Regions from separate parts of the Homo sapiens genome. Here region 2 is linked to region 1. The links are contacts of gene promoters, found by promoter capture Hi-C in blood cells and fetal thymus (Javierre and others, 2016). All regions are on one chromosome and are shown on one strand. The core of a region is centred on a gene start or on the middle of the fragment in contact, and the rest is flanking DNA. Distances in the headings are between cores, read along the strand shown.

What was found. The method cuts DNA at HindIII sites, captures the fragments that hold promoters and counts their contacts. A CHiCAGO score of 5 or more calls a contact.
Region 2: the fragment with the promoter of MACROH2A1 here is called in contact with the fragment with the promoter of HNRNPA0 in region 1 in 1 of 17 cell types (neutrophils); the score reaches 7.4 in neutrophils.

What each region holds. Positions count from the first base shown.
Region 1 is chr5:137,751,806-137,758,653 of GRCh38, forward strand. HNRNPA0 (heterogeneous nuclear ribonucleoprotein A0) reads right to left here and starts at 2,558. Exons shown (of 1, transcript NM_006805.4): 1 at 1-2,558. The coding sequence starts at 2,261. The coding sequence ends at 1,344. RefSeq lists enhancers at 1,217-1,908, 1,318-1,477, 1,988-2,337, 2,599-3,290, 6,755-6,848 and a silencer at 2,918-3,277. The HindIII fragment of the contact is 5,253 bases long and covers 1-4,877 here.
Region 2 is chr5:135,395,926-135,402,773 of GRCh38, forward strand. It overlaps MACROH2A1 (macroH2A.1 histone), which reads right to left and starts at 3,306. Exons shown (of 9, transcript NM_138610.3): 1 at 3,137-3,306. RefSeq lists silencers at 2,642-2,701, 3,012-3,181, 3,192-3,651 and enhancers at 3,552-4,057, 4,058-4,563. The HindIII fragment of the contact is 9,460 bases long and covers 1-6,848 here.

The DNA.
Region 1 (6,848 bases), core at 1,308-3,807:
GTCATAGCAATTTAGGGCTATTGCCCAAGCTATGCATAGCAGTTTACATTTTCAAACCTCATATAGAAAGGGCTATTGTGATATGAACTGGCAACTACATTCCTGTGAAGCCCATCTCAGTTACAAGCAAATGTGTTAACTTCCAATTCTGCAAAGAATTTTGATGGCAAAACTTCCAAATCTGATGCAATTGTCTTAAGCAAGTTTTTAAACAAATTGTTTCGCAGCTACTCTGCCATTCTGCCAGTAGATGGTGCTACAAAGATCGGGAAAGGGATTTCCATGAGGCCAACAGTTCGGATATAGGAAAAAAAAAAAAAAAACGTTTAAACCTGCTCTGAAAGTACAAAAACGCATTTGAGGGTAAAATATAACCCTTATTTTTAACCATTCATTACAGACAAACCAGTAAGAGGGATGAAACTAGGCCATCTGAAAAATTTTAAACAGTTTATATGAATGACATGCTTAACACAAACTATATAGAACTACACAGTACACAGTTTGAAGTAAATTGTCATAGAAATGACCAACCATGTCAAGATGATAAACAATTCGCTTAGTACAAGAGATGGATGCACAGAAACTTAAGAGTTTAAAAAGCCACATCCACCACTTCAAAAGTTTTGCCTGTAAGGGATATAATTCAACACGCAACTAGCAGGGCAACAGGAGAGGGGAAAAAAACCACAGGACCTCTTAAGTTTCTCTAAGTACACATCAAGAATAAAGAATTAACACGTAAAGTCTTAAACAAATATCCCTTAAAAAACGGTACGGAATGGATCCTAGAAAAAAAATGTTAGACATGTACGGTCAAACACAATGATTTATTAAAAATAAAACGTAAAAATGATTTTTGTACATATGCTTCCAAATTTCAGGCATGGGATCCAAGTAGATTTCATAGAAAACGCTGTAGCCAGGTTATCAAGTCCTTACAACAAAGTAAACTACCCCCCACCCCAACCCCCACCCAGGTTTTGCTACAGAATCAGCAAGTTCACTCCCTCCCTCCCCCCAAAAAACACAAATTAAAACAAGACATTTTGCTAGTATAAAAACGACCAAGGTCCAAGTAATAATAAAAAAATAGAGTCCATCAATGACTGTAACACAAAAATGTGTATGTGGGGCCGAGTCCATCTTCAGAGGGAGAGACAAGAGAGGTGGCAGGCAAATAGAGGAACACCCCCAAGGGTAAGCAGCCTTAGAAGTGGCTCCCCCAAGGGCAAAACAGGGAAGGCGGTGTGTGTGAGGGGGTGGGGCTTAGGAGTTGACCCCACTTGGGCTGTTGGAAAGAGCTACCCCTATAGCCACTCCCAGGCATTTTAAATTTTCTTTTAGAAGGAGCTGCCTCCATAGCCACCCCCACCGCCATAGCCGCCTCTGTAAGGTCCACTATTACTGCGACCGCCCCAGCTACTGCCTCCACCGCCGCCGCCGCCGCCGCTCTTCATGGGCCCATAGGAGGACTGATGCTGGCTGTAGCTGCCGAAGCCGCCGAAGCCGTTACCGTAGTCGCTCCCACCGTAGGACGAACCGCCGCCGCCGCCTCCGTAGGCATTGTAGCCGCCGCCTCCGCCGCCGCCGTAACCACCGTAGCTGTTGTAACCGCCGCCGCCGCCCTTGGAAAGGCCGTTCTGGTCTCGACCACCGCCGCGCCCCCGGCCGCCTCGGCCGCCCCGGGAGGATCGGGAGCCGCCTCCACCCCCACCGGAGTAGATATCCTCCTTGGGGACTGCTTTCTTCACCTCCACGCGATGGCCCTGAATCGGATGGAACTTGACCACCGCGGCCTTGTCTGCCGCGTCGTGATTCTGGAAATACACGAAGCCGAATCCACGCTTCTTGCCGGACTGCTTGTCGGCAATAATCTCGGCCTTTTCCACGGTGCCAAACTGCGAGAAGTGCTCGATCAGGTCGCCCTCAGCCACGTCTCCTTTAAGGCCTCCGACAAAGAGCTTCTTAACCTTGGCGTGGGCACCGGGCCGCGCCGAATCCTCCCGGGACACCGCCCGCTTCAGCTCCACAGTGTTGCCGTCCACGGCATGGGGCGAGGCGGCCATGGCGGCGTCCGCCTCCTCCACATTGGAGTAGGTCACGAAGCCAAAGCAACGGGAGCGCTTGGTCTGGGGATTCACCACCACCACGCAGTCCGTCAGAGTCCCAAAGGCCTCAAAGTGGCCGCGCAGGCCCGACTCACTCGTCTGCACATTGAGGCCGCCGATGAACAGCTTACACAACTGAGAATTCTCCATCTCCAAGGCCCGGGCCTTGCCCCCGCCCTGCGAGCTCCGAGGTTTCGCCGTCGCCGCCGTTATCGTTGGTTAAGGCCTCTACACAGCTTGGGCCCAGCCGTTGCTGGAGCCACCCCCGCCGCTCACCGACGGGGAAGGGAAAAAGGGAAGGGGAGGGAAGGAAGGAAGAGAGGAAGGGGGAGGGAAGGGGAGCGGTGCCGGCTAAAGGGCGAGCCGAGGAGACTGGAAGACAACCAAGGCCACCGCTACCGCCGCCGCCGCCACCTCCGCTCCCCTATCTGGGCACCACACAAAGAGGCCGCTGAACGCGCGCGCACCCTCCCCGAGGCGTGCGTCACCGCCGACGTACGGCAGCCTAGGGCTACCAGCCAATCCCCGCCTCGCTCCCCTTAATCCCGCCTACCGCGCCGCAGCGCCGCTCTAGATCACGGACTCCCCGCCCTCCGCGGTCTATTCAAGCCCGCGGCCTGTGCCGCTCCCGCTTCCGCTTCTGCCAGCCCACTTTCATTCCCGAGCGCCCCACTGTCCCTTGACATGGGTCCCTCCCTGCCCTCCGCGCACCACCGCGATTCATTTCCTCCTAGCACCGCGGCTGTTCCCAGTGTTTCTCCCCCTCCCCTTTACTCATCCCCTCGCCCAACTCCGCAGTGGCGTTCGCGCCAGCCCCTTGAGAGACATCTGAGTTCAGCCAATCACCGTGATCCCCTCGCACCCACTTCCGTTTTCGGCAGCTGTTGGACGGGCGCGCTCCCCGGTGCGCGCTTGCCCCGGCGCCCCCGGCGTGCAGAGCCGGCCTACCACCCCCGCGCCTTCTCCCGCCCAGGGCTTTGCCGGGGAGAGAGCAGGGGGCGCGCTGGGGGCCATTCCCAACGGATGCGGTCTGGGGCGCCACGCGCGGGCTTTTTGAAAACTTGACTGTTGGGGTTGGGGGCCCGGATCTACCCGCCGCCTCTCCGCTTGTCCGCTACACCTGGCGTCCCCGCCCCACCTCCCGCCCGCACAAAGATGGAGGGCAGAGGCCTGGTCCACGAAGGCGGTTATTAACCGTTTACAGTGGGCCCGACGTGCGGTTAAACTAAAACTTTGCCACGTGGCCCTGCGCAAAAGCGAGCCCGAGGCGGCGGTGTGAAAGACAACAGGGAACCAAAAGAACTTCAGACATTAGGAACCAGACGAGGCGCGACATCCCTGCCTCCCTGCCACCCTCCCGCCCTCCTTGAAGCCCTCCCACGATGCCCTCTCAGAGGAGGCCCTTTCAGGTCCCCTTGGCACACTCCAGCAGACATTTTCATTTAACCTCAGTGAATGGTTTTTTATGTGTAATTTACATCATCTATGTGTTGCTTTCTTTGAACTAGAATGTTAGCTTTTTTGTTGTTGTTGAGATGGAGTTTCACTCTTGTTGCCCAGGCTGTAGTGCACTGGCGCAATCTCGGCTCAGCAACCTCCGCCTCCTGGGTTCAAGCTGTTCTCCTGCCTCAGCCTCCTGAGTAGCTGAGATTACAGGCGCCCACCACCACACCCGGCTAATTTTTGTATTTTAGCAGAGATGGGGTTTCACCATGTTGGTCAGACTGGTCTCAAACTCCTGACCTTAGGTGATCCATCTGCCTCGGCCTCCCAAAGTGCTGGGTTACAGGCGTGAGCCACCGCGCCTGGCCTAGAATGTTAACTTTGCTTTTTTTTTTTTTTTTTTGAGACGGAGTCTTGCCTAAGCTGGAATGCAATGGCACGATCTTGGTTCACTGCAACCTCCACCTCCCGGGTTCAAGCGATTCTCCTGCCTCAGCCTCCCAAGTAGCTGGGACTACAGGCGGGCACCACCACACCTGGCTAATGTTTGTATTTTTAGTGGAGACGGGATTTCACCATGTTGGTCAGGATGGTCTCAAACTCGTGACCTAGTGATCTGCCCGCCTCGGCCTCCCAAAAGTAGAATGTTAGCTTTTTAAAGATGTTGGGTTAGACGAATGTTTTACAGAGAGAGAGATCATATACCCCTAAGTTACTGCTTTTAGTGCCCTCACTCAGATGGGAATGGAAGAAAATTACAATGGCTTCCATTTATTGAGCCTTTGTGTGCCAAGCAAGATAAATGGGGTGGGACATAGTTAATATGAGGCATTACGTGACCAAAAGCCTCCAAAACCATATGGTAAACGCTGAAGAAGTTAAGAGGAATTCCTCACTGTATCCTCAAGTATTCAGGAAAGATTTAGGAAAGAATTGGAAGTTGCACTGAACCTCAGAGCCAAAGACTAGTTAGTATCCTAAGCAAATTAAGGCTGGAACAGAAAACCAAATACCACAAGTTCTCACTTATAAGTGGGAGCTACACATTGAGTACACATGGACACAAAAGAAGGGAACATTAGACATCAGGTCTTTTTTAAGGATGGAGGGTGGGAGGAGGGTGAGGACTAAAAAGCTACCTATCAGGTATTATGCTGATGACTTGGGTGACAAAATTATCTATACACCAAACCCCCAAGACTAACAATTTACCCACATAACAAACCTCCACGCGTATCCCTTGAACCTAAAATAAAAGTTGGAAAGGAAAAAAAAAAAGATTTCTGTAGGGAGTTTATTTGAGCAAAATCCAGAGGGAACATAAGCTTCAAGAGACAGGGAGTGGGCCAGTTAGTTTGAGAGAAGCAGGCAGTTTTAGATAGAAAATAGTGAGAGGTAAGATAGGTTGAGGGTCTTTGGTACTATGAAATGATACTATGGAATGTGCTGAATCTTAGGTTAAGTAGTTTGGATACTGTAACAAAGGTAAATAGATGGGCTAAGGTTTGAGGGTAAACTAGTCTGATCTATCACTTACCCTGTAACCATTCAGTTATGTGACTTTGGCTAAGTTACTTAACCTTTTAAAAAAATGTAATCAGTTTTATTATCTTAAAATGGGAATAATAAAACATCTTTCTGTTGTAGTGAAAATTAAATAAGATTCTACATGTAAACATGTATACATGCCTGGTACACAGTAAGTGCTCAGTTTATCCAATTATATGAATCCTATGCCTGGTGCTGGCAATATGGCTGTAAACAACAGACAAAAACCTCTGCCCTCATGATGCTTACATTCTAGTGGGAAGAAGCAGACAATAAACAAATAAGAGTGGTATATGGCATGTTAGATAGTGATAAATGACATTAAAAAAATGAAAGAGGACAGTAGAAAGCTATTAACCTTGTTATTACAAAAAAAATTCAAATGTCAGGATTTGCCTATTGATAATAAAGAAAGGGGAAAATGGGCTGGGCACAGTGGCTCGTGCCTGTAATCCCTGCACTGTGGGGGGGCTGAGGCAGGCGGATCACTTGAGGTCAGGAGCTCAAGACCAGCATGGCTAACAAATTGAAACCCCGTGTGTGGTGGCGCATGCCTGTAGTCCCAGCTACTTGGGAGGCTGAAGCAGGAGAATTGCTTGAACCCAGAAGGCAGATGCTGCTGTTGTTAGCTGAGATGGCACCACTGTTTCAGAGTCATCCAAATCTTAAAACAGTAAAAGATGAACTCCTGAAGGAATAAAGACCATAACTTATGAAAACTGTTACTTTAGGAATTTACAATTTTGGTAGATAGTTTTTGCCTACATTGTTTTTAAATAATAGTTTACCAGCAGTGCCCAACTTTTCTGGCACAAGAGACCTATTTTGTGAAAAACAATTTTTCCACAGACCAGGATGTAGTTTCAGGATGATTCAAGTGCATTACATTTAATGTGCACTTTATTTCTATTATTATTGCATCATAATATTCAATGAAATATAATAATTATACAACTCACCGTAACGTAGAATCAGTGGAAGGCTTGAGCTTGTTTTCCCGCAACTAGCCGGTTCCCATCTGGGGGTGATGGGAGACAGTGACACCCGAAGTGTGTTGCTTATGTCCAGTTTACTCCATAATCTAGTTTTGGTTGCTGTCACTGCAGAAAACCCTGCTTCACAAATATAGGATGCTGGAAATGGAAGCAGGCTTTTCAGTGCTTTTGTGGCAATCTCAGGATATTCCATCCAGAATGTATGGAGATTTGAAGTTGTCTCAAACATACAAGGCTGCCGTCACTTGCAATCTCAAGCAGTTGATCCTCTTCTAGTATCGACAAAGTCAATTCTTCTGGCTTATTCACAAATGGGTGGTGGATCCATTCCTTCCCAGCTCAGGGATTTTTTTGTGGTTGGCAAGTAAAGCTCAAACTCTTTTGAAAGCTGAGCTAGGTGATCATGCAGCAGCTGGGAGAAAGAAGGCGTTGGCTCAGTCACTTTCAAAATCTCTGCTAATGTTTGAAACATGTCAGAAATCCCAATGTTCACTCATCGCCCCCATAACTCCAGTTTGGTTTTCAATGCAGCCCCTTTATCTGCTGATTTGAACACAGTTGTCATTCTCCCCTGAAGTGACAGATTGAATTCACTGAGCAGGTTGAATGTGTCACACAAGTAAACAAGTTTTGCCACCCATTCTATGTCACTGAAATGTGCTGCTAGTGGTGACTGTTTTTGTAAAAGAAATCTCTGGAGTGGCTCTCATAACTCAAAAATTCTGGCCAGTTATCTACCTTTAGAAAGCCA
Region 2 (6,848 bases), core at 2,056-4,555, 2.4 Mb before region 1:
TGTTCCAGCAGATGTGTCTTACTCCTGTTATGTTTTCAGTGGCAGGAAGAAACAAAACACAAACACAAATGTCATTTACCACAAGCAAGAAACAGTTTTGGGGAAGCTAGTCTGGGATTGAAATTTCACCTCTGCAAACCCATTCGGTGATGCGCTTCCCGAGATGCACTGAAGGAACTGTGCAGCTTGCTACATTTTAACAGCAAGTTACTGCCTGCCTGCTTTACAAAAAAACTTTTCTACATACTCCTCTCTCTTTTAAAGGTTGTGCCAAACTCTTAAGATAACCAGTCTCACGGAAGGCTATTTAGAGAAAAGTTAAAGTGTGGGCTTCACAGGACAGGACTCTGATAAGGCTTAGCATGTAGAATCCACTCATTATTTGCCGAGTAGACGTGTTCCCAATAAGAATAAAAAGAACACCTGATCCTGTCTCTCTCCTGCTCAAAACCCTTCAGTTGCTCTTAGGATAAAGTGTGGGTCTGACCAGAATCCTTTGTGATTTGTCCTGTTTGTCCCTCCCTGAAGCCTCACCTGACTCCGCACCAGGACTCAGCCATCCCGAGCCTCTGGCAGTTCCCCACATGACCTCTGTTCTTTTCTTCTAAGATGCACACATGGGGTTCCCCAGGCCTCAAACACTTGTCCCCATCTGCCCTCCTTTGCCCAGCCATCTCCTGCTTGACCTTTCCAAGCCAGATAAGGGCTCACTCCTGGCTAGGTTACTGTACCTGCTGGGGGGCTACGTGGGGCCTTTTGCACTGATTTTACAACAGCTACTTGCCTGCCTTCTCCCAAAGTCAGCTCCCCCAAGGTAGGGGCTAGGCATTTCTTAATCACGGCTGTGTCCCCAGTGCCTGAACAGGAGCTGATTCTCAGGAAATCTTTATGGAAAGACTCTGAGACACTGACCTGACAGGTTTGGTCCAAGCAAACAAGCTATACAACTCTTTGGAATGAAGAGTTGACTCACTCAGGCTCACTTGTAAGCACTGAGGCAGGGCCCAAAAGACCTCTAAACCTACAGAATATGGGAAGGACCCACAGAGATCTGGGCCCCAATCACTCCTGCCCCTTCCCAGCCCATGTTCTAGGAATGGGGCTCTGAAAAGGCTGTCACAAATCCTTGGGGACACTCAAATAAAACCAGAGGCTGTTGCAGTTCTGATGAACAACACATATAGAGTCTTGTTGGGTTCTTCGGCTTGAGGTTTTCAGTTTATGCTTTTATTTAAATAAATCTCCTTTAGGTGACTTGGGGCCGCATTAGCTCTGAAGGCAGGTCCCAGAACACATGCCCTCTGAGCTTCTCAGTGGGGAAGGAATGCGAGGCGCTCCTCAAGTTCGCCTCTCTCAGGGACCAGAAGAAACATCAGATGGAGATGTGTCACTCCCTGACACTGGCCCATTTGGTAAAAACTAAACCAGTGGCATGGTTGTATACTAGAATGTCACATGTGAAGTTCCAGACAATTCTTAAAGTTTAATAAAATGTGAGTTAAATTATGCCTCCTTCTAAAGGCCTGCCTCAAACAATTTTCATTTAGACAACCCTCTTAATGCCTTATCTAGGGATCAGCATTAACAATGGTGACAGATCGAAGCCAAAGAACAGACTGGAAAGATTTCTCTCTCCTTGTAAAACTAGAAGGGGGAAGAATTTGAAGTCTTTCAAGAGTTTTGTTGTGTTTAAGAAAAAATAAGTTTGAAAACATACTCATCCTCATCAGAGAGTCTCTTGTGCAAGACTGAGATGCTGCTGCCCAACTCTAGTTAAATGTGTACAATGGGTATTAATTCCAGTTGCAGGCAAGAGGTGTCCATTTCAGAGTTAACACCTCTGACAACAGGCTAGTAGCCTAAAGGTGGCCTGCAGTAGGTGAATTCCACCTAATTTACAACTCGAGTCTCCCATTCAAACCTAAGACTGTTAAAAAATGCCCGACTCCCTGGAGCAGGGAGCTTTGGAACAAAACACTTCCCTTACCCCCTACTTTAACGGTAAAACCTCAAACCACAAAGGTGGAAGAAAAGAGGGAAGCTAGCAGGAGTGCCCCCTCTAATTGTCTATTCTTATGTGCTGTTTACTGGGTCATTAAAATCTTACAAGGCCTTTATAGTCATTGTAATTGTTGAATTCAAGGTTTGTCCCAGTTGTTTGTACAGAAGTCTCTCACTTTGAAACTCAGAAACATTTCCCCTAACATCTTGTCTAAAAGAACCTTTCAAGCAATGTACTGACCAACTCCTTGAGTGATCTGTGGCCCCTGCAGGAGTGGGGGTAGGGAGCGCCATGTCGCACACCTGTTGTCAGGTGACACTGCCAGCAGCATCCTGCACACTCACCTCCCCACTCCACCCCACCCCCAGCGAGGCTCTTTCCTGCTGGCCTTCTCCACCCGGGGAAGCCTACAGCCTTCCGGAGTTACCTTTTAAAAAAAGCAAACCCTTCCTACCACAAAGCAAACAAAAGGCTGATACCGAGACAATCGGGAGCAGCGGGGGTTCCCGTGGCCCCTCTCCAGCCCATCCTTGGACCACTCCCCAACCCGGTCCCCCGCACCAGCCCGGCTTCAATCCCGCGAGTAGCCCCCGCCTTCCCCTCCCTGCAGATAGCGAGCCAGACGCCTACACCTCGGCCCCCCGGGGCTCGGGCCCGACTTATTGTGCCGGGGCCGGCAACTCGCGGGCCGGCGGGGGCCTCACCAAGTACAACTCTGCTCACAGCAGCTCCCGGGTGCCCAGGCCCAGACTGCCTAGCCAGCGCCGCGGGGCCTCCTGCGGCCTCGGGCCTGGCCCGTGAGCCCGCCCCAGGAAGGGTCGCCAGGGTAGGCGCCAGCACCGCTTTTTTCCCACAAAAGCGCCCAGGCGCGGGCAGGGGGATGCGTTTCGAAGAGAAGTTGGTTTCCAGGTTTCTTTTTTGAACAAAACCAAAGGGAATCCCGCGCGGCCCGACAAGGCCTGGGAGGACGTAGTGCACGCGCGAGGACCCGGCGTGGGCCACACCGAACCCGGCGGCCCGAGCCCGGCCCGCACCACACCGGTGCGCGCCAGGCCGGGCCGCTCCCGGGCACCCGCGGCCGGACCCGAGCGGCGGGGACAGGGAGTGCGGCAAGGGGGCCCGCGCGGCACTTACGCGGCGGCTCGGTGGCGGCGGCGGCAGCTGCAAGGTGTCTCGGCCTGAGCCCTCCTGGCCGCTCGCGCCTTTTCTCTCCGCGCTCCTCGCTGGCCCGCCCGCCTCTTCGCTTCCCGCCCGCGCGGCCCGCGCTCTCCCCCTCCGCCCGGCGCCGCTGCCGAGTGAACTGGAACCAGTCCTCGCGGCCGGCTTCCCACAATGCACAGCGCGCCGCTCGTCACATCCCTTCGCGGCCCCGAGCGTCCGGCCTCCGCGCCCGTGCCGCCCGGCGCCCCGGCCTTGACCCCGGGCCCGCGCCCTACCCGTTGACGCCGGCCGCTCTGCGCCCAGGCACCAGCCCGCACCCCGGACGCGAGGTCTGACCCATGACCCCGGGGACGCCCAGAGCCCAGTCCTTGGGAAGGGCCAGGCCCCTGGAGAGGAGCTTCTTCAGGGCGCGTCCCAGACTCTGCGTCTCGAGTGAACGCCTACTGTGTGCCTGGCTCTGAGCACGGGACTGTCGCTGCCACGGCATCTTTAGGAACCTTCCCACTAACCCAGTGGGAAGGCACAATGGCTGTTACCAGCGATCGCTCTTCCCTCCCCAGTCAATGCCAACTCCCCCCTGCCCCGCCTCAGAGACCCCGCTGTCTTTAGATACAGGCCACCGCCAAGCCCTGGTCTGCCCCAAGATCAATTACTGCGCACCCGGTTCCCCTGGGGTCCTTCAGTTAATCCTCCTCACCCCGAAGTCTGGAACCTGCCTTGCACATGGAAGCGGTTAGCTACTTCGCTTCAGCAAAAGTTCACTTTCGGACCCAAGTTGGGAATTACTAATGTAGACAGTGATTCCTTATCATCACACACGTTTTTTAAAAACTGCGGACAGGCCGAAAGAGGAGGAGCCGCCACAAAGCCCGCCACGTCTTCCTAAATTGGTTTACCGCCTGAAGGCATTGGTGCCCCATCCCGGGTACTTAAATGGGGGCCTGCCCTCTACTCCCCTCCCTCCAAAGTGTGGAGCCGGAAGCCACTTCTCCATCCAGCTGTGAACTAAATTTGGATAATAATACACATCCCTCAGGGTTGATGTGAAGTTTAAAGTGCCGCTACTGGGGATTATGGAGGTAATTAGAGACCCCCACCCCCACCCCCCAGTCCTCAGGCTGCGCGGGAATCGCAGCGGCAGTAACCTCCACCTCACCGGGATGCTTTACACCTTACTTTAAGAGTTTGCAAAACAATGTCCAATACCTGCCATTCATGCATTCGTTAATTCGATTAAGTACTGAGAACGTATTTTGTGTCATACATCGATTTGGGTGCTGGATATGAAACAGCCAAGAGAACAGGCAGAAATCTCTGCCCTCCTGTAGTTTGCAGTCTCGTGGGGGAAAGACAGACAAACGGGAGAATGTGTCAGAGGGTCTCCATGGGGTGGAGAAAAATAAGGCGGAGAAGGGGAATAGGAAGTGTGAGATAAGAGTGAGGCTCAAATACAAGAGAAGGCCTCTATGAGAAAGTAACATTTAAAGCCTGAAGAAATTGAGGGAGCAAGCCGTGTGGATGTCTGGGGAAGAACTGCGCCGAGCATGAGGAATAGCAAGTGCAAAGGCTGGGGTAGGAGTGTGTCCAAAATAGTCAAGACAGAGCGAGTGTGAGGTTGGAGTAGAATGGGTGAAGGGGAAAGTAACAGGAGATGAAGCTGGAAAAATGATGATGCTTATGATGCTTCTGGTCCCAAAACAAAGCATTATGGTTCTATGAGGATCTCCCGAAGAAAAGATGTCAGGAAAGGTGCAGAGACCCTCCCCCACACACCACATTGTTGTTCCATCCTTCTCTGTGCCTTTGGGCAAGGACTCTCCGTTCTGTAGGGACCACCAGGTGGAATTAAAGTCTACACTCCTCCAAGAGCTGATCTTGGGGCGGCCCCACCTCCATGCCCCTCTACAGCGTGCCATTCTCATAGAACACACTAGGACCTTTGTCCTCTGGAGCTGTTCAGTGCAGCAGCTCTGACCTCATCCTTCTCCAGAAGCCTCCACCTTCTCTCCCCTCTCTCCTCCTGCGCTTTGTGTGTCCTGTTCTTCCACTTCGGTGACCTGTCTCCTCCCCTAATCTGGCTCAGAGAGGGGTACCAGCTGCTGCTGCTGCTATTGCTTCTTCTTCTGTTAAAGGTTTTTTATTTTTTTCCAATGACAAAGCTATGCTCATTCTGAAAACATGAAAAATAAAAATGCTCAAAAAATAAAACTCACTCTACATTCATTGCTAGGAGAGAACAGCCTGCTCCCATTCCAGCCTTTTTATCTATATCCACTTAACATTAAACATACAGAGTTTCTACTCTATTTAGTGATTGTCACCTGCACTTTAAACTTAATGGTTCTTTATGAGCATTTTACTGGGTAGTTGTTCTACAATAACATTACTGGAACTGTTTGGGTTTCCCTTGACCCTCTTAAAAATTACTGAGAACCCTGAAGAGCTTTTGTTTTATAGGTTACATCTATCAATATTTGCTTTATTAGAAATAAAAACTGAGAAAAAGTAAATATTTATTAATTTATTTTAAAAATGTTAACATGGAAAGAAATTATATTACATAAATAATGTATTTTAGAAAAATAATTATACTTTCCAAACAAAAATAATTAGTGGGAAGAGTGGCATTGTTTTACAGTTTTGCACGGCTCTTGAATGTCTGGTGTAATAGAAGATAGCTGGTTTCATGCCTCCTCCTGCATTCAGTCGGTCACTATATGTTGTTTTGTTTGAAGTATGTGAAGAAAATTCAGCCTTATGTAGATATGTATATGGGAAAGAATAGAGGATTTTAATCGCCTTTTCAGATAATTACAGATGTTCTTTTTTCATACCACACCAAAATGCAAGGAGTCGTTTCTTAAAGGTTAAGTGCAATGTAGAACCTGAAAAAAAAAATCAATAAACTTTTGAACTCAGTTAATACATTAAAATCCATTGGCCTATTTTATATCTTGACTGGGTCCTTTAGCTATGCATAATTTGGTAAAATCATACATTGATCATTTGGGAAATATCAGTTCACTGATTTATACGGATCTTACAAATGTAAACACATTTCATTGTACAATATTAGAAAATCACATCTATTAATAGCACCACTGATCTCATCTGAAGGTTTTTGAGTATTGGGAAGTTGTCAAGCTCTTGGTGGCAGATACGAGTTTCCCAAAATTGTAATTTCTGCTTGAAAGCTCAAGTTTATCACTGACAACATAATGTCACAGTGATTTTCCTAGAAATGACAGGTTCATTTCATTCATTTTCAAGAAAATGTCTACCACAAACAAAGGACCACATTATGACTTTCATGGGCCATAGGCATTTTTGCCTGCATGGGCCCTTTCCTCCACTAAAAAGACAACTGCACTGGTATAAAGACAAATAAATTAATATTGTATATTAAAACTGTGCCTCGTGGAGTATTCAGCCCTACGTACACCCAATTCTGAATACCCATAGTTTGTCTGTCAGGTGTAGCTTCTCCATTAGAAACAGTACTCAGGCCCCCAGGACTTTATGGGCCCACGAAAATGTCTTAATTTCTTTTAAAATCAGAAGAAAATGAAAGTTAGTTCTTTTATATTGAAGAAAATATTTTAATATATAATGTTAATATATTTGTCTTTCTACGAACACGGTTGTAAAATTTTTTTTCTATTGTTTTATAGAAGAAGGGACTCAT